Regions from separate parts of the Homo sapiens genome. Here regions 1, 3, 4 and 5 are each linked to region 2. The links are contacts of gene promoters, found by promoter capture Hi-C in human tissues and cell types (Jung and others, 2019). All regions are on one chromosome and are shown on one strand. The core of a region is centred on a gene start or on the middle of the fragment in contact, and the rest is flanking DNA. Distances in the headings are between cores, read along the strand shown.

Region 1 (5,307 bases), core at 544-3,043, 240 kb after region 2:
GAGATGAGAAATGATCATCCAATCATCCACATTCACTCAACTAGTAAACAATTGGGCTAAACTTCAGCTCCAGCTCCATGCAATTCCAAGTCCTCGTTGAACCACTTTGTTATTGAGCTTGCTCCAACTGATCTCCTGTGTCTCTGGCCATCCCATCGTTTCAGTAGTGCCCCAGTTTGAAAGTCCACTTCATCATCAGGCATCCAGTGCCTTCCAGCCTTTAATTGTCTCCTATCAAACTGGAAACAATTAGTCTGAGAAAATCATCCATGCCAGTGAATTAATTTATTGAATTTGTTGTCCTGTGTCTTTCTGTGAGGGTGAAAGGCTGTATTTGTGCCATAAGAGAATGCTGGCTGTCTCTAGAAGAGCTGAGGGAAAGGTTGAATGAGATCAACGCCTGGCTCTTACAATGGCCTGCAGCAGTCTTCCTCAGCCTTGACTTGCCTAGGAAACTTGCAAACATCAGATTCTCAAGTCTACCTCCAGAGATTCTGATTTAATCACTCTAGGCTGGGACCCAGTCATTGGTATTTTTTAAAAGCTCCTTAGAATAAATCTAATGTGCAGCCAAGGTTGGGAACCTCTGGATGGAAAATACATGATTTGGTCCCCTCTAACCTCACCTACTGTTTATTATCCTTCCACCTCCCACTGCTATAGACATGCTGTCTTCCTTGCTTTTCCTAGAACACAGCAAGCATGCTTTTGCCTCAGGGACTTTGTACCTGCTGTCCCCTCTCTGACTAGAAAACAGTTTCCCTAGATACCTGCATAGTTAGCCCCCTGAACTTATTTCAATTCTCTGCTCAAATGTCATGTAAATGGTGACATCTTCCCTGACCATCTTATATAAAATAATACTTCCCTTTCCCCTGATATTCTCTATCCACCTTATCCTGTTTGATTTTTCTGCACTGCCCCATCAACCATTGACATATAACATGTCTACTTGTTTATATATGTATTGTGTTTCACCAGCATTGAAATGTGACTTTCACGAGGGTAGGGATTTTTGTCTGTTTTATTTAATACTGTATCCCCAAGAATGCCTTGCATAAATTGGGACTAACAAATATTTATTGAATTGAATAAATGAATACATTTGGGAAGGCGCAAAGGAGTCCTTGCCCCTGAAATTCATTTCTTCAGTCAGCCAGCAAACTGTATGGAGTGACATCTGTGTGCTGAGCTCAGAGCTCTGTGCCTGGGATAGCATTTTACAGAGCATGGTGGGCATGGCTGGCCAGTGCTCCTGCTTACTTCGATTTTCTGCCTTCCCACCATTCCTGTGCTTATTATATTCTTTCTCAGAAGACTTTTTCCCCACTGTTGAGAACAGGGCAGTCTGAGAAGCCTCCCTACTAAAACTGAGGTTGGCACCCCTCTCCTACTTCATTGTGGAATCCTGGAATGGTCTTTCTTACCCTTTGTCCCTAGCAGTTTCACATGCTTTGGGTCATTGCATTTCTTCCCTTCTCTGCCCTCCCCCACTTCTCTCCTTCAAACAACATCATCTCTCAGCAATATACAACCTCAAGGGCTATGGGGCAGGGGAGAAAGAAGGGCCCAAGAGGAAGCTACCCTGATGGCATTGGTGCAGTGGCAGATGTGGGAACCCAACCCAAGAGGAACAGTTTAGGAGTGCCGAGAATCTCCGCTGAGTGGAAGAAAGGTCCAGGCCCTTTGTGTGTGTGTGTGTGTGTGTGTGTGTGTGTGTGTGTGTGTGTGTGTGTGTGTATGTGTTTTGGTAATGAGAAAGAAACTCAAGAGAAAGCTTCATGTATCTTCAAACATACAAAAAAAAAAAAAACTGCTGGCTGGACACAGTGGCTCATAACTTTTAATCCCAGCACTTTGGGAGGCTGAGGTGGGTGGATCATTTGAGGTTAGGAGTTCGAGATCAGCCTGGCCAACATGGTGAAACCCCATCTCTACTAAAACTAGAAATACTAGCTAGGCATAGTGGCGGGCACCTGTAATCCTAGCTACTTAGGAGGCTGAGGCAGGAGAATTGCTTGAACTCGGGAGGCGGATGTTGCAGTGAGCCGAGATTGTGCACTGCACTCCAATTTGGGCAACAGAGCGAGACTCATCTCAAAAAAAAAAAAAAAAGAAAAAAGAAAAAAAAAAAGAAAATGTGGTGTAAATGTATACCGTGATATACTACTCAGCTTTTGCAGCAATATGGATGGAACTGGAGATCATTATCCTATGTGAAATAATTCAAAAATGGAAAATCAGATACCACATGGTCTCACTTGTAAGTGGGGGCTAAACAGTGTGTACACATGGACACAGAGAGTGAAATAATAACATCGGAGAGTCCAAAAGGTGGGAAGGCGGGAGGGTGGTAAGGAATGAAAAATTACCCATTGGGTACAATGTCTGCTATTCAGGTGATGGCTACACTAAAAGCTCAGACTTCACCACTACTCAATATCCATGTAACAAAACTGCACTTGTACCCCCTAAAATTTACAAAAATTTAAAAAATTTCATTTGTGCTTACTGTCTTTACTGAAATGTTAAATATTTACTCATGAGTTGATTACTCTGTGCACGTGAGATTGTCTTTTGTAGTTATAAAGAAGGGATGCTTAGAAGTAGTATCAGTGTTCTTTCTTATTCCTATCCCTCCCAAATCTCACACCAGAAAATGCTGGAATTTTTTGGAAGGAAATAGAGAAGAGTGGAATTAGGTTTAGGGATGTGTAGTCATAGGAGGAGGGGAGTAATGGAAGTTATAGAAATGGTGGTACTTGGTGTTGGTCCGAGCTAAAGGCTAGAGAAGGATGTGTTAGAAATGGGCCTGCATAGCCGGCATGAAGGCCGGGTGAGCAATCCTTGTGCTTTTTCTGGGAGAGGTAAGGCCCAAGAGAATTTGCCTGAAATGGGATGATGTACAACTATTTTCACATCCAAGAAAATTTGAGGAGTTCTAGGGCAAATGTAAAGAGATAACATTCCTTGCATACCTGAAGAGAAGAAATATGGACAGACTGAGAAAATGATTTTTAAAATGACAAAATAGGCTGGGCAGAGTAGCTCACACCTGTAATCCCAACACTTTGGGAGGCTGAGGCAGGCAGATTGCTTAAGCTGAGAAGTTTGTGACTAGCCTGGGCAGCATAGCGAGATCCCATCTCTACAAAAAAAAACCACAAAAATTAGCTGGGCATGGTAGTGCATGCCTGTAGTCCCAGCTACTCTGGAGGCTAAGGTGAGAGGATCGCTTGAGCCTGGAAGGTCAAGGCTGCAGTGAACTGTGATCGTGCAACTGCACTCCAGGCTGGGAGACAGAGTGAGACCTTGTCTCAAAAAAAAAAGACAAAGTACAAAATGGTCCTCTGAGAATATTGTTCCTCTTTGTCATTGCAAAGAGATGCATTCTAGCTGGATGTTTTCATTTATACTCCCAAATTCTAAGACTCTTGTTTCTCCTCCAGTGTTTCACACAGATGGTTAGTGAAAAAGTCCTTTCTTTCCCCCCGACCAAATAAACTTGATTTTCTGTCTGGTCCTATTCGGTTCAGCTTAGCAAGTAACAGGGCAAATTTTTTTTCTTCTTTGGGACTTGAAGTATGGTGTTTTATAATTCACTGAGTGATTACAGAGTGCCCAGAACTTTATGTAAATTATTTTTGTTTCTCATAACTCATCTGTGTAGTAGATATTAGTGTTCCCATTACATAGATGAGGAAATAGAAGCTCAGCAACAAAAAGTAATTCATAGCTGGTAACAGAATTTGAACTCATGTTTTTCTGTCTCTAAAATCTACAATCTTTTCACTACTCAAAGGTGCTAAAGCTCCCCTGTTTCCTCCATATTTAACTTTCTTTAAATCATTATTTTATTCTGGTTTAAAGAATTGGGTCGGGCCTAGTGGCTCACACTTGTAATCCCAGCACTTTGGGAGGCCGAGGTGGGTGGATCACCTGAGGTCGGGAATTCGAGACCAGCCTGACCAATATGGTGAAACCCCATCTCTACTAAAAGCACAAAAATTAGCTGGGCATGATGACATACACCTGTAATCCCAGCTACCTGGGAGGCTGAGACAGGAGAATTGCTTGAATCTGGGAGGTGGAGGTTGCAGTGAGCCGAGATCGTGCCACTGCACTCTAGCCTGGGCAAGAAGTGAGACTCCATCTCAAAAAAAAAAAAAAAAAAAAAAAAAAAGGGTTGAACTGGAGGCCAGGAACGATGGCTCATGCCTCTAATCCCAACACTTTGAGAGGCCAAAGCAGGTGGATTGCTTGAGCTCAGGAGTTCAAGACCAGCCTGGGCAACATGGTGAAACCCCATCTTTACAAAAAAATACAAAAAATTAACTGGGCATGGTGGTGCACACCTGTAGTCCCACTTACTCAGGGGGGTCAGGTGGGAGGATCGCTTGAGCCTAGGAGGTTGAGGCTGCAGTGAGCTATGATTGTGCCACTGCACTCCAGCCTGGGGGATAAAGTGAGACCCTGTGTCAAAAAAATATTTTTTTAAAATTAAAAAATAAAAAAGAATCAAACCTATTCTTTTCCCTCTACTCTGCCCAAGTTTTCAAGTAAATAATCTAATTATTATTTGAAATGACCCAATTAAGTTTAAAAATACCTGTCCTTTCCTAGCCCTGAAGACTTAAAATAGATCTACTGTCTTCTAAGAGTCATTTCGTTTAGTTTTCACTTGCTCCTTCTCTTTATAAAGGAGTCTCATTTCTCTACCTGCTTTATTCCATCAATTACTTTCCACCTTTTTTCTGTGGGGTTATTTTTACCAAAATTAACACATGGGGTCTCCTAAGTAAGTTTCCTTGTTGAATTCCCTTTACCAGTTGAAACATAGAACAGGGAAAAAAACATTCTTACATTACTGCACCTACATAAGATGTACTTGGCCGGGTGCGGTGGCTCACGCCTGTAATCCCAGCACTTTGGGAGGCCGAGTCAGGTGGATCACCTGAGGTCAGGAGTTCGAGACCAGCCTGGCCAACATGGCAAAACCCCTCCTGTACTAAAAGTACAAAAATTAGCCTGGCTTGCTGGCAGGTGCCTGTAATCCCAGCTACTCAGGAGGCTAAGGCAGGAGAATCCCTTGAACCCGGGAGGTGGAGGTTACAGTGAGCCAAGATTGCACCACTGCACTCCAGCCTGGGCGACAAGAGCGAGACTCTGTCTCAAAAAAAAAAAAAAAAAAAAAAGATGTACTAGTGTGTATGTGATGTGACTGCGGGATGAATGTATTACAGGAAGCCAGATAACATGAATAAAGAAAAGATTGTCCGCTATAAATCAACCTTTCTTCCCATTCTT
Region 2 (5,067 bases), core at 1,453-3,952:
ATAGAGAACACCGCGTACAACACCAGCAGACATAAACAAAGTCACAACCCGAACGCGGCGCGGACAAGAGGCGGAGGTGACTTAGAGCCAAAGGGCAAAGCGGATTTCTCCCCACTCTGCCCCCCTCCATTCCCAAAATTGTGTCGCGAGTAAAGTGCTATTCCCTGGGGCTCAAGAGGGGGGAAGGGCAAGAGCGACAAGGCAAGTTTCTTTCCCATTCACGAATTGAAACTGAAGAATTAATTCGCCTGAAAGACATAAGCGCTCAAACAGCACACGGAATACAAAAACAGCCGCAGCGTGCAAAGGTGACTGGGTGGTCCCCTTGCTTCCGTCCGAGGAGACTGGAAGGGAACAGCCATGGAACGTTTCTGCAAGCGTTAAGAGCAATATTGTCGAGTGATGTGCCGAGTTTTTCCTGCATTCGTAAGTTAGGGAAACAAAATCCCGCTATACAAGTGATTTGTTTCCTTAAAATTCCAAATAGAAAGGATCGTGGGAATTCACATTATTCTTGGGCTCTCATCCGACTGATACCCAAACAAGTTGCAGGTGGAAAGTCGCCTGTATTGTCTCCCTTTGGTTGTGTTTCCCAACTTTTGGAATTTGGGGCTTTACCCTTTAAGCTGCTGCCATTCTCTTTTGTACAAACTAATTGCTCTAGAGGTTCCTCCTATCCTTCTTGACCCCCAGGTCAGAGCCAAGAACCTTAGCTGTTTCCCAAAGATATTTCGTGGGGTTCCCGCTGCCTCCTCTCCTCCCCTTCCCCCTCCAAAGCGACTTTATTCATGACACCGTTTCCTTGCCCATTTAGCTGACTAGGAAAATAACGGTATCAAACGCTTCCTCTTTTCCTTCTTAAATAAAACGAAATTTCCTTAGTGGACGGCAGTTTTGTCTTGAATGTTCACGAGAGGCGACCGCCGAGGATGCGACCAGCAGAGAGAAACGTGGTGGCTGAGATCCGTTTCAGCGTCACTCTCTGTTGGATTCTTCGCGGGAGGTTTAGCTCTGCCAGCTTCTGCTCCCAGGAATAAGGGTCAGAATCGACTTCCAATTTACCAGCGAATGAGGCTTTCCTAACCTCCTTCGTTCCCTCCCCCCATAACTTATGGATTTATATTAATTACAATAGAAACTCTTACCTGAAAATTGGCTTTCATTAATCTGATTGTACAACATAGTATAAACACAGACACCAGGAAGGTTATATTTATTCAGACCACTGGAGAATCCACTTTTCGGGGTTGTTCGTCTATTTAAATACCTTCCGTTCCAGCAAAGGCTGAGACTCGCCAGCTCTGCCCGGCCTGACCAGGGCGCCCTCTCCCCGTCGGGTGGTTTGGGCGGTTCCGGGCCCGGCGTCTCTCACCCCGCTGGTCTCCCCACGCCCGCCGGGTCCCCTAGGAGTGCACTAGCACCGAGTGCAAGGAGCCGCCCTTGCTTTCGGCCGAGGTAGGGGCTGTGGGCTCCAGCAGAGAGGCAACGGGCGAGGCCGCGGCCGCGGAGCACACGGTGGATGGCGCCGGAGGCTGCTGCGAAGCCGCGGGGACAGTGAGCCCCGGCTGCAGCGCGGACACGGGCGGCAGCGCAGGCGTGGGCTTGATGGGCACCGGCATGGCAGGCAGGCTCTGGCTTGCCGAGTGGCACAGGGACTTGACCGGGACCCCGAAGGCCCCATACTCCGGGCCTACAGGGACTCCGGCTGCGGCTGCGGCGGCCGCGGCGGCGGCCACCGAATCCATGACGCCAACGTGCGGCCACACGGAGCTGACGACGTTGCCAAGCTGGCCGGGCACGGGGTAGCCCAGGTGGTGCATGACGGACGCCAAGGGCAGCCCTCCAGCCTGCAGCACGCCCTTGTAGTCCCGGCCAATAATGTTCTCAATGGCAAAGGGGTGCTTGAAGCCTGACGTGGACGCCGCGGCCGCGGCGGCAGCGGCGGCGGCCGAGCCCAGCCCGTAGGGTGGGAACTGAGACAGGCGTCCCACGCTGCCCACCGCGGCTGCCGCGGCCGCCGCCGCCGCCGCCGCCACGGCCGCCGCCTCCTGCATCTTGCCGGGGTGAGACGGCTGCTGAGGCTGCGACTGCTGGGGCGGTTGCTGCGGGGGCTGTGACGGGAGGTGCGGAGGCGGCTGCGGAGCAGTAGGCGGTTGCTGATGGAAATAGTGTACCATGTGCGGCGGCGGCGGGGGCGGCGGCGGCGGCGGCTGGGGTGGGTGGTGGTGATGGTGGTGGTGTGCGGCAGCGTGGTGATGATGGTGGTGGTGGGGGTGGTGGTGGTGATGGGGGTGAAGGTGCCCTCCCGGACCGGCGCCCGGCGCGCTCTTGGTGCTTCCCGCGTGCAAGTGAGTATGGTCGGCGCGCAGCACCTTGAAGCGCTTGCGACGCCGCAGGAAGCTGCCGTTCTCGAACATGTCCCCGCAGTCGGGGTGCAGCGCCCAGAAGCTACCCTTGCCAGGCTGGTCGGGCCTCCGCGGAATCTTGATGAAGCAGTCGTTGAAGGAGAGGTTGTGGCGCAGGCTGTTCTGCCAGCGCTGTGTGTGCTCGCGGTAGTAGGGGAAGCGCTCCATGATGAACTTGTAGATGTCGCTCAGCGGCAGCATCTTCTCGGCCGAGTGCTGGATTGCCATGGCGGTCAGCGAGATGTAAGAGTAGGGCGGTTTTTGGTCGCTGTACGAGCTCTTCCCCGGCCGCGGCATCGCCCCCGGCTCCTCCACCGCCCTCCGGCCCGCACTGGACCACAGAATCTCTCCGCACTCCGTTCCTGGGGCCTGGCTGCCCCCACTAATTCCCACTCGGCCCCTCCAGTCCCGCCACTTTGCCCTCTCGCCCTCCAGGCCCTCTCTGCTTCTCTCTCCTGCCTTCTCCGAATTGCCTGGTGTCTCCGACCTTGGCCTTTCGGGCCTACTCAGCTCTCGGAAGCTGGCAACTTCTGGCCCCGACGGTTGCCGACTGGCGCGCACAGTCGCGGGCGGAGTGCACCAGGTTTACCGCCGCCTTCTCTGCGTCTTCCCCCGGGTGGCCAAAGACTGAGTGCTGGAGCTGGCTGCAGAGGAGAGTGGCAAGGGGCCGTGTTTCCTCCCGGCCTCTTTGCTTTTTCTAGGTCCGAGGGAAACCCAGACCAAGATGGCTGGGAGGAAGGTCTGGGCAGTAGAGACTCTGGCCCTTTAAATCTGAGTTTGCGCCTGCTGTCCTGGAGGCCAGTGACAGCAGGACTTCCAGTGCCCTGGACGCAGGCCCCTGGCCAGGCACTTAGCCAGACCGCGCTGGAGTTCTCCTTTTCCTGGAGTGAAAAATCAGGGTAAGGAGAGAGAAGATTGGCTTCTAGGGCGCCTCTCTTTTCTCCGAGGCTCGCAGCGTCGCCGGGGTTAGAAGAGACGCGCAGCCCTAGGCTGTCGCTGAGGAGAAAAAACTTTGGTGGTTTCTGAAGCGGCAGCGCCCGCAGGTTCTGCTGAGGAGTGTGGGGCGCAGGACTCTGGGAGCGAGCGGCGGGCTGGAGAGGGCGTCTGCGAATGCTGGGTGAGTGCTGGCCGGGGAGGCTCAGCCGTCCGCGCCGCAGCTGCCGCCTTTCTCCCGGGCTTGTCTTGAGGAGGAGAGGCGACGGCAGTGGCAGCGACGCGCTCTCCTGGCTGCGTTTTGTAATGGTCCCCGAGACGCCGAGACCCCCGCAGCTAGCGCTTCGAGACTATCACATGACCGAGGCTGAGGGACTCAGCCGCCGCCGCCGCGTCTGTAGCTGAAGAAGGGGCAAGAAGGCGCCGTGCCTCGCCCCCGCCCCCTTTTCCACCTCGTTTCGGGCGCTCTCCACCCATCGCGTTCACCACTCGCTCGGCAGCCCCCAGCCACCTCCCGGTGCGGCGGGTGGCGCAGGCTGTTCGCCGGGAGGGGGCACAGCTCCGGGTGCATTTCCCGCAGCTGCGCCCCACCCGGGCCACCAAGCACGGTGGAGGGGGAACAGGACACTGCCTTCTTGCTTCTCTTCTCTCTGGCATCTCCCTCTTCCGCCCCCTTCCTTTTACCCTTCCCTGTTTTCATCTACTCGCTGTGAGCTTCTCTCTCCTTACAAACCCTTTTTCCTGGGCTAGACACTCTGGGTCAAGTTCAGAGTATCGTGTCCTCAAGGCCTCTTCTCTGCAAGAAACCCCGATGATTAGAGGGCTGGAGGGAAAAACTCATGGGGAAGAAAGCATGGGGTGTTTTCACCAAATGCCAAATTCATCTCAGTTTTATTGCGCGCCAACTGCATGTGAGGCACCAGGTGCAGGGAGACAGGAGACAGTATCCGAGCTCCACCATCGCGGTATAGAGGGTGAGACGAACAGTAACCAAGAAATTAATAGAATAGGCACTAAAGGGCTTGGCGAATGGAGGCTCCACCACACTTTCCTGGAGCGAGTGAGTTGGACAAGATGAGGTTTCTCTGGGATGGCGATGTCTGAGCTGGGGCCAGAAGTAAGAGTTGGGGATTCAGGGGTCCCATCACCTGTGTGTGCTGGAAGGAAATCTTTGCTATTCTTAGCACGGTGGTGTGGGGCCAGGGCGAGGCAGGAGGTGGAATGGAAATAATTAAATAGGAAGCAAAAATTATCAGTCCACAGGATCCTGGTGTGATCTGCGAGGGAGAGGTGGATGAACCCAGGAGTGAGGTCCTTCTGCTTGGAGGTTCCTGCTCTGCACTCATCCAAACACCCAGCAGGAAACCCCAGTTTACTGCAGGGAGAACCTGAAGTTGTATACTCGTTTTGGCTACCTTTGCCCTTCAGCTGGGAGGAAAAGCAGAGTTTAGAAACAAGTATACTCTCCGTCTCTGGGACTGTTTCATTATTTGTAAAATAGGGTGGCTGAAGTTGGAAATTCACGGGTCCTTTCCCGTTAGGCGATTTGAGGAGAAAGGAGCATTTGGACACTATGGCTCCCTCGGTTTTCCCACGCCTAACCTGGAAGAAAGCCATCGGCCCAGCTGCTTGGGGGGCTGCCCCCTAACTAGCAACCTTGGTGACACCAGATCGGGTGTTTTCAGCTTCTGGCTTTTGGTGAGCTGGACGGTGGGAGCACGTCTGTCCG
Region 3 (4,792 bases), core at 1,604-4,103, 140 kb after region 2:
AGCACTTTGGGAGGCCGAGGAGGGCGGATCACAAGGTCAGGAGATCGAGACCATCCTGGCTAACACGGTGAAACTCTGTCTCTATTAAAAATACAAACAATTAGCCGGGCGTGGTGGCGCGTGCCTGTAGTCCCAGCTACTCGGGAGGCTGAGGCAGGAGAATGGCATGAACACCAGAGGCGGAGCTTGCAGTGAGTCGAGATTGCACCACTGCACTCCAGCCTGGGTGGCAGAGTGAGACTCCGTCTCAAAAAAAAAAAAAAAAAAAAAAAAAAAATATATATATATATATATATATATATGACAGGCCTCTTTCTTACAGAACTGAGTAATCTTTACAGTGGAAATAAAAAACGGGGCCTTGTGTTAATCAGATTTCAGATCTTCTTTTTTGATATACCTCCACCTCAGGGTCTTTGCTGTACCCTTTGCTGAGAATGCTTCTCTTCCAAATGTGCAACAAACCCTCCCGCACTTCCTTTGGGGCCTTACTTAACTATCATTCCAAGGAGGCTTCTTTGGTCACCTTATTGAAAATATTGTTCCCTTTCCAAGACACACACACACACAATTACTTTTCCCTGTTATTTTTTTCTTCTTAATATTCATCTCTATTTGATATGTTACACATTTCATTTATTTAGTTTATTTCCTTGTTCCTCATTAGAATATAAGCTACATAAAAGCAGAGGTTTTAATCTATTTTGCTAATATCTCCTGGTTTGCTTTATATCTGCTGTGGTGTTCAGTAAATATTTGTTCACTGATGTTGAGTAAACATTTGTCAAATGTTGTTGAGTATAGCATAGCTAAAAGTTTGCTGTAGACATTCATTGTGTCTTAACAAAATCGGGGTGTGCAGATGGCCCCAACATGTATTACATAAGATATGCAATGGAAAAATGGTTTTATGATCAAATAAGTTTGCAAAACATCTCTTTCTGTCTGTTTTCTTTCTCTGTCTCTCTCATACAGACCACATACACGTGGAGATTTACAGTGAACTAACATGAAGCATCTGAGAGGGCCTGTGATGTGGCCATGTGTTTAAACATTGTTAAACTCAATATCTTTCAAACTGTTTACTAGTGCTCACTGGAACACACTTTGGAAAATGCTTTCCTATGCACAGGCTTCCTGACTCACTTTTCATCATGGTTGTGAGGGTCGACTGGGGTAAAAGCTATGGATTTGGTTAGTATATTCTGTAAAGCTATTCCAATGTAAGATTTTATCATTAGTTCAAGTGGAAAACAAAACAAAAAAATACTTTCTAACTCCTAATTTTGTTTGCTGGTAAAACAGTTTGGTGATGGAAAGGACTAGAAGGGAAGTCTTTGTATAATTATGTATTTAATAATATACACTTTAAAATAAGAGTAATTCCTTGTAATTCAGATTGCTTTTGGGTGAGTAGGTGGGGGTTGTCAGGACAAAGTAGTAGGATTTTTTTAAGTTTTAGAAGACAGCTTAAGAAATGCTCTAATCCTAATGGTACCTGCCACAAAACCAATTAACCCAGGAGAATGAATACCTTGTCCTTGCAGATTTTACAGATCATAAAGGAAGAAAATCTCTAAAGACTACGTAATATTCTTACCCCTCCTCAGAAATCTTTACTGAACTCTAAGTTTTCTGAAGTTGGTGATCTAGCCCACATCTCTTAGTGAATAGTCAACAGAGCTTCTCTCTAAGGATTCAAGAGCTCTCTGGACAGTGGGTCTTCTGTGGTCCTCTCTAAGCAACTTTTCATTGCACAGATAGAAGCGACCTGACTCTAGATGAGAAAAATGAAGCCAAGAGGGCAATCGCTTCTTCATAACAGCACTGTGGTTCACCTTCTTGCTCATGACACCCTCCCTGCCTACAAAGAATTCCCACCTTGGAACATGTCCATGAGCTTTAAGAGTGGACTCTTCCACCTGCTCTTCCCTTTTCCTTCTCTTTGGCCATCTTCAAAGAGAATGCTTGGTTCTCTAACTGGCTGTCCTGTCCTTGGGGTCAGCCTGCATTCTTGTGCCCAGAGTCATCAATACCTTGACTCTGCAGTGGCCTCAAGGACTATCTGATTCACCATAGTGCTGACCTGTCTTCTGCAGAACACAATTTCTGAGAAATCAGCAGGACCTGCAGCATCTTGCTGATGCAGCTATTGATTCCTACCTCTGCCTTGCTTGATCAGCTCTGGAATCTATTGATAACACTACCACTGCTAAATCCCCACTTCCTGCTAAGTCCAGATTCCGCATCTCTACCGCTTAGGGTCATGGTGTATCTTACACTATACCTAAGTAGTTTTTATGTTCTGTCTTGAGCAAATCTGTCCACTAAACAGGTATTCTCTCTAAGCCCTAGTGGCTGGAAGTGATATTATAAAAGGTAGCAGTTGCCTGCCCCTGTAAAAACATTTAACTGTGCATTATTTATAACCCAGAGAAAATTTTCCTTCTTCAAATGGCAGATTATTCATTCACCGATGCTTGATTACTGTACTCTAATGTCTCAGTATTTCTTATGTATTAATCAAACAAACCTCAAGAGATATTCAGCAGCTGGGGGGATCACTTTTGGGTAGTCTGATTGGAGGGGTTCCTAGAAGGACACCTCAGAGTCTTGAGTGCAGCAATTCATGAAATTCTACCATTAGAAAGCTGTTCCTTTGTGTGTGTGTGTGTGTGTGTTTTAATTGAGACAGGGTCTCACTCTGTCACCCAGGCTGGAGTCAAGTGGCACAATTTTGGCTCACTGCAACCTCCGCCTCCTGGGTTCAAGCAAGCCTCCCGATTAGCTGGGACTACAGGTGACTGCCACCACACCCGGCTAATTTTTTGTATTTTTAGTAGAGATGGGGTTTCGCCATGTTGCCCAGGCTGGTCTCGAACTCCTGAGCTTAGACAATCTGTCTGTCTTGGCCTACCAAAGTGCTGGGATTACAGGCATGAGGCACCGCGCCAGGTCTGAATTTTTTTTTTTTAATGAAAAATGTATAGGTCCTCTTTTAAAATGCACATCTTCCTGGGATACCTCTTCTATACCCATGTTCTTTTGTAGACTTGTTCTAGAGCATTAAAGCTTGAAGGGAATCTTAATGATCATTTGGTCCAGTCTCATTATTTTAGAGATGAAGATATGAGGCTGAGAAGACACATATATCTAGATCAAAGACTCACTGCTAGTTAGCAGTAGAGTTGGGCTCAGTATCCTATGTCTCCTGCCTCTTTTCCAGAAAGCTTTATGTGTCTTATGGTATCCTGAGGAGACAACTTTCTTTCAGATGTGTCAACCTGTATTATATTCCATGCTTAAAAATATCTCATGTAATGCAGTTTGATTAGCATTTCTCTAGAGTCACTGTAATTCTAGAGATGGCAGGCACTGGGGTAATTATATATAAAATTTCCTCTTGGGTTTAAGTCACTTCCAAGATCCAATGGTTATTTTAAAACTAGTGTGGGAAGTAGCTTATTTGGCTAGCAGCGGTATTAGAAACAGAAGAGTTAGAATGACTGGCAGGTGCTGATGATCTCTTTGTTGATTCCACTAAAAATGGTGGGACAGTGTTGGGCCTCATTCCCACCCAAAAACGCCACCAAGTGTAATAGGTATGTCTAGGTGGGAGGGAGGAGCCCCGAGTAGCACAGAAAGAGGGAATAGGTCAAGGGAAAGAAAGAGAAAATTTTAAATCTATTTGTTTATGTAGGTGCCTCCATGGAATCAATATCACCCATTGCCTGCCTTGGAAAATTTCTGAAAAGTCCAGGGGAATCTGGCCCCCAAAAAGGGTCAGTATTGTGAGCAGGAGGAACCCTCAGTGCCTCTAGCATTGTGGGTCATGGACATGGAATGCTTTTCCTTGCAGAAAAACAGGAAGTGTTCCAAGCAGAACATGCTATTCCTTGCTTCGACAATTCTCTGTAATTCACTTGAGTCAAATCCAGAGAAATTTTGAGTTCTGCTTATTCATTGTGTATTTTTATTTCCATCTATCTACTTAAATGGTTTTCTTCTAAAATCCAAGACGGTTCCTCTGTGTCTAGTTGCTTCATTTTTCTTGAAACAGATTTTGCAAGCAGATTTGTAGAGATGATTTTCTCTACCTCACAGGAAATAGGAATTTCTACTACTAGTATGCCATAGAGCCATGATTCTTAAATGTTTGTGCGTATTGCATTCACCTGGGGAGCTTGTTCAAAACACAGATAACTGGGCCCCACTCCAGATCTACCTGATAAGAACATAGCAGAATGGGACCAGGGCTATGTGTTTTTAACAGTTATTCTTGGTGCCTTCTGCACCCACCCTATGATTTTGATGTTCTCCCAAGTTTGAGATACGTGTCAAAGGGACATAGATAGGAAGAAAGGATGGATAGCAGTGGTATGACTTGGGTGTTGAGAGAACCTCTGTGCCCACATTCCCTATTCATTCTATTATAAACATTTATTGAGTCACTATTTACTATGTGCAGAGAACATCTTGAGACTTTGGACTCACACAGGTGGCTAAAACACAGAGCCGGCTGGGCATGGTGGCTCACAGTTGTAATCCCAGCACTTTGGGAGGCCAAGGCGGGCAGATCACAAGGTCAGGAGTTTGAGACCAGCCTGGCCAATATGGTGAAACCCCGTCTCTACTAAAAATACAAAAATTGGCCGGGCATGGTGGCACGTGTCTGTAGTCCCAGCTACTCGGGAGGCTGAGGCAGGAGAATCACTTGAACCTGGGAGGCGGAGGTTGCAGTGAGCCGAGATCATGCCGCTGCACTCCAGCCTGGGCGACAGAGCAAGATTGT
Region 4 (4,690 bases), core at 2,174-4,673, 190 kb after region 2:
CTGTTCTTTCCTTTTTTCTTATCCAAAACAGCCTCCTTACTGATTCTCCCCATATTCCTTATCTAAATTTTTCTCTGCATGATAGCCAGAGTGATTCTTATAAAACATAAATGTGAGCATGTTACTTTCCCTACTTAAAACTCTTGAAAGATTCCTCATCCCTCTTAAAATATAAAAGACAAACTTTAAGGCGGCTTGTAAGGCCCTTCATGGTCCCGCTATCTATCTCTATCTCTCCAACCTAATTTTTCAACATTTCCCTTGCTAAAATCATACCATCTACCTGTAATTAATTGCTTTCTGTTCCTTGAACTGGCCCAATTCCCTCCCACCTCAGTGCCTTTGCACAGGCTCTTTCTGGATCATGACCTCCCTCTTGTCTTTGCCTTAAGTCCCTAGTTATCCTTCAAGCTCAGCTTAGGTTAACTTTCTCTAGGAAGACTCCTCTGAACCCTAGATTTTGGCCTAGATTCAGAGTACTATGTATTTCACCCATAATATTTCTTATTCTCTGCTATTGAAAATGTCTGTGCTTACTTATTTGTAACCTCTAATCTCCCGTGAGCTTCAAGAGGCAAGGTTATCTCTAGCCTAATCTTGAATCGTTAGCATAGAGCCCTGCCTGGCCGATAAAAGGCACTCAGTAATTGTTTGTGAGGGAATGAATGGATGAAATGCTTTAAATATATTTAGCAATATTTACTTTTCTTTATGATGTTTACATTCATTTGATGCTTAGTATAACACTGTGAGCTGGGAAAGCAGTATTATTCCTGTTTTAAAAATGGGAAACTGGAAACGGAGGCCAGACGACTTGCTTGGGACTTTCCAGCATGTTTGATGGTAAATGTAGACCTCATCTCTAGGTTCTGTAGGTCTCAGGCCATGTGTTTGGATTGGGTACCATAGTTTTCCCTCACTGGATGCTTTATTTCCCCTTTTACCTTCTTTCCTCTTTTATTTATTTTCCATTTTCCCTCCCCCATGACTGGCGTTAAGGCTACACTGAAACAGAGACGGTAGTACTTTGATTAGTCAACAGATTTGGGGATTTTTAGAGAGCTTAATCATTTGTCATTAAGCGAAACTTCTCTCTCCCATGGTGACTCTGTGTTAATCTGGGCTTGGAATGCAGGGAAGAGTAAGAGTACGTATGGGGTGCTAACTCCTCCCTTTCAAGATGAGATTATCCACAGAAGTCACAGGAGTTTGTGCAAGGTCCTTCACACTGGAAAATTACTTTGTAATTTAAACCTGTGATTTAGACCCAGCTTGTGAGTCCTTATAATTAGATAATTGTAAATGACTTTAAAACTGTGTATGATGCTTGGGAGATCAGAAATGGACGTCAGGTTAGCCACCTTGTCAGATTCCTCAGCTGTTGACCGTGGGATTATACATTCATTTAGTGTGAAAAGGAAGAAGTTTGTATGTAAAATTAATAATATAATGAGTGGAAACAGTATTCTTTCTGGTCCTTTAAAGGAAATAAGGCTGATTAGACTTTTAAATAGTTTACCACTAACTTCCTTTTTGAAATCATTTAAGACCAATGCATATCTTTTTGTGTGTTTGTGTGGGGTTGGGGGAATATACACATTTTTTTCCTTTATCTGTGAATTCTGTACCATAGAGTATGCTAGGGTCAGTTAAGTTGTAGAGAGCAGTACTTGGAGAATAATGAAGCTGGATGATGGTTCAATTGTTTTCTAAAAATTGGCTCTTGAATGTTACGTGTGGAGGACTCTGGTCCAGGTGAGAGACAGAAATGGAAAGCTTAGATTGAGAGGCCAGGAAACACTGATTTTCTTGGCCCCTGTTCTGGCTTGGCTGGAAAGCTTTAAGAGCATTTTTATTCATACCTTTCAGGTAGCATTCTTTTCAAGTGGATGACCATGGAATCAGAGAAGATCTCAGAGAAGCAGGAGGAAATTCTTTCTATCCTGGAAGAAAAATTTCCTAACTTGCCTCCAAGAGAGGACATCATCAACGTCCTACAGGAGACCCAGTTCAGTGCTCAGGGTGAGTGACTCTGTCCCCAGCTCTCTTGTCCCTCCCGAGTAGGGATGGTTTGTGGCATGGAGCATCATCAGACCTGAGAAGGTATATTTGTTTCTTTGTTTGTTTTTTATACAGAGTCTCACTCTATCCCCCAGGCTGGAGTGCAGTAACATGATCTCAGCTCACTGCAACCTCGACCTCCCGGGTTCAGGTGATTCTCATGCCTGTCTCCCAAGTAGCTGGGATTACAGGCATGCACCATGACAGTCAGCTAATTTTTGGCATTTTTAGTAGAGGCAGGGCTTGACCATGTTGGCCAGGCTGGTCTCGAACTCCTGGCCTCAAGTCATCCACCTGCATCGGCCTCCCAAAGTGCTGGGATTACAGGTGTGAGCCACCATGCCCAGCTGAGAAGGTACATTTGAATGTGTTTCACCTTCTTCCTATTGCTTGTGCTGGTGGAAGGTTTTCAGGCACATAATGTTGACTCCCCTGCAAATAGACAGCTTGTACTGTGGCCTCTCCTCCGAGGCCTTTGTGTCTGGATGTGTGGTTAATTCATGTCTCTAGTGCATATCTCAGGTGCATTATTACATGCAATCCTTATGCTGATAGGATTCTATTTTGAGAAGATGGAAGGAGCAATATCAAGCACAATGGGATTTCATAAATCAGTTAATTTGAGAAGGAAATGAGTGAGAAGATGGCTATGTTGAAGAAACTGTTGTCAGAGTCTAGGCTTTGTCAGGACAGTGAATTTCCTGGATCAACTGTTTTACAATAACAAAAGGCTATAATTCACTGGATACCTACTGTATACAGGTTTTGATGGCATAGCTTGGCAAGGATGTTCTTGCTGAATCCTCCTCATGACAACCCCAAGAGTCAGTGCTTTGACGTCCCAGTCTGCAGGTGAGGGAGGACACTGAAGTGCAGAAAGCCTTCATTGCTTTCCCAACATCAAACACACATAGCAGGCAGGTGGCCAGGCAAGGCCTAAACCCAGCCTATATGTCTTTAAGATGTAAACACTAAATTACATAACTTTCTCTCTTAGTTCAGGAACCCCATCCCCAGGGGCAGGAGGGGGCAGAGCCTGAGGCAAAGTGGTTTATGTGGGAGGTGGTTCCAGTCAACACTGATAGGGGAATGGAATGCTTCAGCAAGCAAGTTGGCTCCATGGGAAACCAGAGCTTAATCCCACCAGAGACCATGAGAAAGAGTGTAAACTCTGTCCCACCTGAGGGATGCAGTGGTGTGCTCATCTCGGCTCCAGGAGCTGATGGTTAAATGTTCAGGAATTTTGTGAGTTGAGTGATGATTGGTAGCTTGAGATCAGCCATGGTAGGAGTATTTAGATCCCTGAAATTGACAAACACTACAAATCAGGATTTGTTACTGGCCGTTAAACATTTACCAGCAGACCACTGGAAGAGTGTGGGCTACTCAGACCCAGGGGGCCTTAATTCTCCAGTGTAGGCTCTGGTGGCCAAGGAAAGCCCTCAGGAAAAGAGAGGCAGGTGCTGGTGGTGGAGCATCATGCTGGGTGCACTGGGATGGGAAAGTTTGAGGAAATGGGGTGGGGCCTTTGCAGCGTCCATTGCACCTTCTGTTACCTATGCATAGATGTGCATGTCCTTGTGTGTATGCTGCACAAGGGAATGTGTTTTGTCATTCATTTTCACAATGACACCAAACTTTTAATGTCACAATGTCTTCAATGAATCATTTTACGCTGCATTGTGAAAGATTGTGGCTTTTCAATTTTTGAGTCAAAGAAAAATATTTAGTGCCTGTCTGTTTCCTCATGTGATTGACAGAGCATTGTAAGTAGGTAGTGCAAGCAGTGGTCTCTGAAGCCTTAACATACGTCTGGGAAGGGTGCAGTGCTTTACCAGGCTTTATTATAGATCTTCCTCCCAAGAGAGTAGGCCTAATCAGACGTAATAATGTAGCGCGAGAATTAAATGTCGAGCCAGATCCTTTGCTGCTTTACTGTGATAGATTTCATTGAGTTCCATTGGTCAACTGACTACAACTATGCAGTTCTGGATAATTTAGCCATTCTGGATTATTACTCCCATTAATTAGGGAATTTAATAACTCTTATTGTCAGAGCCTATTACGAGGGTAAGCAACTTAATTAAGATAGTCTTACGAGTCACATTTGTAAAGTGCATTTTGAATGAAATTATACTAGAAAACATGGGGGCTTACCTAAATGCAGCCTGAAAGCCAGTTTTGGCTTTCTTTGGTGTTACTTAACTAGTTTGCATGGTGATGTTAATTTTTCTTCATTTGTCCACCGCCACCCTTTTATTCCCTGCCTTTGTCTGCTCTGGGGCTCCAGAGGTGGACCCCTAAGTATTTAATCTTATGGGCTCCCACAACACTGGCTTCTGGTTGGGTTTGACCAATAGGAAGAGTTAGGAACAGGTAGGGATGGAGGCGAGGAGAAGAATGAGACTGTAGTGGATCTTCCTTGCCTTCTTCCTGCTTAGGTGGAAGTTTCTGCAGCCAGTCTTCTCAAGTTACAGATCTCTGTTTTCTTTCTGGGTCCCTTTGCTAGTCTCTGGATGCCTCATCATCTTTTATTCACTTTCTCACCCAGCCCACATCTCTGTAAGTGTCCTGCCATTAACACATCTTCTTTTGCAGCAAAAGAGGTGCATTTTTCCTATTGGGATCC
Region 5 (4,889 bases), core at 1,947-4,446, 140 kb before region 2:
CTGAGACTCTGTCTCAAAAAAAAAAAAAAAAAAAAAGAAAAGAAAAGAAAAGAAATTTAATTGTCATTGTAACAGCGTTAGGAGGTGGGGCTGCCTTTAAGAGGTTATTAGGCCATGAAGGCTCCACCTTCATGAGTAGGTTTAATGCTTTAATAAAAAGTCTTTCAGTTGGGCTCTCTCTCTCTCATATGCCCTCTCACCTTCCACCATAAGTTGACACAAGAAGCAGACCCTCACCAGATGCTAGTACCTTGATATTGGACTTTCCAGCCTTCAAAACTGTGAGCCAATAAATTTGTGTTCATTATAAATTACCCAGTCTGTGGTATTCTGTTATTGCAGCATGAAATGAACTAAGGCACCACCCAACGATGATTAGCTTAGAGAAGTGTTGCTCAACTAGGAGTGATTTTGCTCCTCATGGGACATTTGCCAATGTCTTCAGACATTCGACGGAGGCCAGACATGCTGTTAAACATTCCACAATGCACAGGAAATCCTCCTACAACAAATAATTAACCAGCTCCAAATGTTAATAGATTGAGGTCGAGAAGCCCTGGCTTAAAATCTAATAATTATGTAAAACAAGGGAATACATTTTACTTAACTTGAATTAGGGGACAACAATTCTTAAAATTGGATATTTAGTCTCTCTCAGTAGCTGGGATTACAGGCCCATGCCACCATGCCTGGCTAATTTTTGTATTTTTAGTAGAGACGGCGTTTCGCCATGTTGGCCAGGCTGGTCTCAAACTCCTGGCCTCAAATGATCTGCCTACCTCAGCTTCCCAAAGTGCTGGGATTACAGGCATGAGCCACAGCTCCGGGCCTGAAAACAAGATTTCAAAGTTGTGATGTTATTAAAATACAGGATACCCTTAAAGTTTACTCTTTCAAATTTTTAAAAGAACTCAGCAGAAAGATGTGCAATTGATTTGAATAGACAATTCGTGAGAGAAATAAATACCTAATAAATGTATAAGAATATGTCGTTTCCAGCTAATAAAATATATCCAAATAAAAAACAAGAAAGTGCTTCTCACCTATAAAATTGACAAAGATTTAAAAAATTGGTAGCACCCAGAGTTCTGAAGGAAATGGTAAATGGGAAACTTCCAACCCTACTGATAGCAGAAGAAATTGGTATAATTTTTCTGGATGTCCATTCGACAGTATTTGTAAATAGCTTTTGGATTGTGCTTAACCTTGAGCCAAGTAGTCTATTTTTAGTAAATTATTTTAAAGAAAAATAATCATTTATTGAATTCTACTTCTGAGCCAGGCTCTGTAGTGCCACTTTATAGACATAAGTATTTAATCCTTACAACAACTTTGCAAGCAGATATTATTACCAACTGTTACAATTGAGGAAACTAATGCACAGAAAGTTTTAGCAATAAGCCAGAGATCAAACTACTGGAATAGTTTATACACAAGTCTGCCTTATTTTTAGGAAAAATGGACATATGTGCAAATCTGTAGGAATGAGGATGTTTACTGCATAGTGTATAATAAAGAAAAGTAGAAAATAAAGCTCATTATCCATTAATAGAGGAATTATTATGCAAATTGCATTCATTCAAATGATCATATACATTTTGAAAGAAAATGTATTTAGAATATCTTAAGTTCAAAAGGTTGGTTAAAAATAAAAGAGTGTTAACAGCCAATTTTTTTTTTTTTTTTCGAGACGGAATTTAGCTCTGTTCCCCAGGCTGGAGTGCAATGGTGTGATCTCGGCTCACTGCAACCTCTGCCTCCTGGGTTCAAGTGATTCTCGTTCCTCAGCCTCCTAAGTAGCTGGGCTACAGGCATGTGCCACCATGCACAACTATCTTTTGTATTTTTAGTAGAGACAGGGTTTCACCATGTCGGCCAGGCTGATCTCAAACTCCTGACCTCAAGTGATCTGTCTCCCTTGGCCTCCCGAAGTGCTGGGATTACAGGAGTAAGCCAATACATCCAGCCAACAGCCAACTTTTTTTGAGTCCTTGCTATGTGCTGAGAGTTCCAGATATTTGTTCAACTTGGTGGGCATTTGCATAGAAAATAGTCTGGAAGAACTTACACTAGGATGTAATAGTATTGTCTTCAGGTGGTGAAATCAGGGATAAGTTCTGAGTTTCTTTTATGTTTTGATGATCACTGAATTTATTTCACTGGGTATGTATTCCTTTTGTATTCAGAAAAAAACACCCTTTAAAACTAAGAGGGAGGGAGAGAGGGAGATGGGAGGAGACAGAAAAAAGTGGAGAAATCTTGCAAGTTGTACATGAAGAAACAAGTGAGTGGAGCTTATTCATATTGTTTTGATACACACATGAGCCAGGAGAGTGTGCTATGCTTCCATCTTTCTAAATCTTCTCCTTTTAAAGTAGTTTACTACAATTTCAAACCTGATAATCATATCTTTATTGTAGATTATTTGTACATAAAATAAAATATTTATGGTCAAGATTTAGTTTTCAAAATGTTAAAAATATTTCAGAAAACCACGAAATGAAATAAAAGCAGTCAGACAGGAGGTTTCTGGTTTTCCTAGTAGATTTCCACATTTAATCCATGAATCTTCATTTTTCTCCTTCCTGGAGTATGAATATAACTCAAAGTATAATGACAATGACAGTAGTCTTTCTCTCTCTCTTTTTTTTTTTTTTTTTTTTTTTTTTTTGAGACAGAGTCTCTCTCTGTTGCCCAGGCTAGAGTGCAGTGGCATGATCTCGGCTCACTGCAACCTCTGCCTCCCCGGCTCAAGCAATACTCCTGCTGCAGTCTCCCAAGTAGCTGGAATTACAGGCATGCGCCACCACATCCAGCCAATTTTTGTATTTTTAGTAGAGATGGGGTTTCATGATGTTGGCCAGGCTGGTCTCAAACTCCTGGCCTCAAGTGATCTGCCTGCCTCGGCCTCCCAAAGTGCTGGAATTACAGGTGTGAACCACCATGCCTGGCTGACAGTCGTCTCTTTTGAACCCACTCTTGTTAAATCTCTATATCCCAACACTTCTGTACCTCTGTAACCCAACATGATCCTGGATGGTCAAGCTTGCTCCTCAACAATGCTGACGTCTCTGGCACTGAGCCTATCTCCTGCCCCTTGTTTGCCTGCCACTGTCTGCAGGGTGTAGACTCTGGTGACAGAAATGTCTGAGATTCATGAGTGAGCCATGCTTGACTTTGCCACCATGACTTGGTCACTTCAAGGAGATCAGTGGAATTGTTGACAGTTTTCTTTCAAGGTGTCATAGCAGCTGCTTTGCTCCATTAAACACAAGTAGAGGATTAATTCTTTTTAAATAAGGAGATCTTGTTTCTTTTTCTTCTTTTTCTCCTTGTCATCGCCCCCCTTTTTCTTCCTCTTCCTAGTTTTCTTCCTTTTTCCTTCCTTCCTTTTCTTTGCTAGTAAAGTTTGTTGTAAACCAAATTATAATTGCCACAACTAATAAAATAGAAAATTGAAATATATATACACACCTACATATGCAGACATGTTTTGCATTTTTTTTACAATGTCCTTAATGTCACAACATTAATTCTTATTTTTTCTCACCTTTGTTCTTTAGAATAGAAACAGAAGGCAGCCCTCTGACATCACCTATTTCCCTAGCAAAACACGTCCACCAAATGATAATCTGCATTTCTCTTTGTTTCAGGATATTTTACCTTTACCTTTGTAATCATGGTAATTTACTGCTATTTTGCATGTAGGAGGAAACCCTAGGGATATTTTTGTTGCAAAGATGCCAAGGAAAACTGAGTTATGTGGCAATTTTATAGTTCTAAGGAGAAGGTGTCAAAAGCTTACAAGAAAATTAGATGATACCCCTGGAGGTGTTAGATGCATTGACAAGTTCACATCTCCCATCTTCCTTGACATTTTTAGGTTAAGCCATATGATATTGCTGAGTGTCCTAGTCTAAAATAGTTGATTATCATCAGTTTCACATGGGTCAACCTAAAGTAATGAACTGTGGATTGTTATGGCAAAATGAGGAAAGATGACTTGGAACAGAATAGCTGAAGTGTTGCAATTAAGAAAAAAAGTTTTATTGACTTCTTTTAGTCTTGGTTAACATATATCCCCTTAACCCATTTCCCATTTGCCCTGAGAATACTGCACTGGCAGTGAGCTGCACATTTGTTTTCTAAACGGGGAATGGGTTAAGGATGGGTTGGACATATCCAGACTTCTCTCAAAATACTGACAGGCATATTAAGGTTCATAAATCCTCCTTGTAGCTAGTAAGTCAGACCAATCTCTACCTTAATGAATATTTACTAAGCACCAGTTGTGTCAGGTTATAATAGATATGGAGACACAGTCTTTCTTCAAGGAACATTGCATCTATGGGAAGGAAAGCACATGACCAATTGTGATGGTTAATATTCAGTGTGGACTTGATTGGATTGAAGGATGCAAAGTATTGTTGCTGGGTGTATCTGGGTGTTGCCAGAATAGATTAACATTTGAGTCAGTGGACTGGGAGAGGAAGACCCACCCTCAGAAAGACCCACCCACAATGTGGGTGGGCATCATCCAATCAGATGCCAGCACAGCTAGAAAAATCAGGTAGAAGCTGGAGGGTGCTGACTTGCTGTGTCTTCCAGCCTCCATCTTTCTCCTGTGCTGATGCTTCCTGTCCTTGAACATCAGACTCCAGGTTCTTCAATTTTTTAACTCTTGGACTTACCAGTGGGTTTGCCAAGGGCTTTCAGGACTTTGGCCACAAACTGAAGACTGCACTTTCAGCCTCCCTACTTTTTTTTTTTAAATGGATTCTCGCTCTTGATGCCCAGGGTGGAGTGCAGAGGAGCCATCTCAGCTCACTACCACCTCCGCCTCCTGAGTTCAAGCGATTCTCCTGCCTCAGCCTCCCGAGTAGCTGGGA

What was found. The method cuts DNA at HindIII sites, captures the fragments that hold promoters and counts their contacts. A contact is called where the count stands out against the background at its distance.
Region 1: a contact is called between a fragment that was not itself captured here and the fragment with the promoter of FOXB2 in region 2, in 4 of the 25 tissues and cell types used here (IMR-90 fibroblasts, mesendoderm cells, ovary and 1 more).
Region 3: a fragment that was not itself captured here is called in contact with the fragment with the promoter of FOXB2 in region 2 in 5 of the 25 tissues and cell types used here (dorsolateral prefrontal cortex, heart right ventricle, liver and 2 more).
Region 4: a fragment that was not itself captured here is called in contact with the fragment with the promoter of FOXB2 in region 2 in 1 of the 25 tissues and cell types used here (liver).
Region 5: a fragment that was not itself captured here is called in contact with the fragment with the promoter of FOXB2 in region 2 in 7 of the 25 tissues and cell types used here (H1 embryonic stem cells, bladder, dorsolateral prefrontal cortex and 4 more).

The regions. Positions count from the first base shown.
Region 1 is chr9:76,773,327-76,778,633 of GRCh38, reverse strand. The region is part of intron 6 of PRUNE2 (prune homolog 2 with BCH domain); the gene reads left to right. The region is part of intron 1 of PCA3 (prostate cancer associated 3); the gene reads right to left. Among named protein-coding and RNA genes, the nearest start is that of PCA3, 12 kb to the right of the region's middle. The HindIII fragment of the contact is 8,675 bases long and covers 1-5,307 here.
Region 2 is chr9:77,017,290-77,022,356 of GRCh38, reverse strand. FOXB2 (forkhead box B2) reads right to left here and starts at 2,702. Exons shown (of 1, transcript NM_001013735.1): 1 at 1,404-2,702. The coding sequence starts at 2,702. The coding sequence ends at 1,404. The HindIII fragment of the contact is 6,747 bases long and covers 1-5,067 here.
Region 3 is chr9:76,875,389-76,880,180 of GRCh38, reverse strand. The region is part of intron 1 of PRUNE2 (prune homolog 2 with BCH domain); the gene reads left to right. Among named protein-coding and RNA genes, the nearest start is that of PRUNE2, 28 kb to the left of the region's middle. The HindIII fragment of the contact is 5,508 bases long and covers 100-4,792 here.
Region 4 is chr9:76,823,912-76,828,601 of GRCh38, reverse strand. It overlaps PRUNE2 (prune homolog 2 with BCH domain), which reads left to right. Exons shown (of 19, transcript NM_015225.3): 5 at 1,870-2,022. Among named protein-coding and RNA genes, the nearest start is that of PCA3, 62 kb to the right of the region's middle. The HindIII fragment of the contact is 3,231 bases long and covers 1,808-4,690 here.
Region 5 is chr9:77,159,600-77,164,488 of GRCh38, reverse strand. No RefSeq gene overlaps it. Among named protein-coding and RNA genes, the nearest start is that of VPS13A, 15 kb to the left of the region's middle. The HindIII fragment of the contact is 4,434 bases long and covers 980-4,889 here.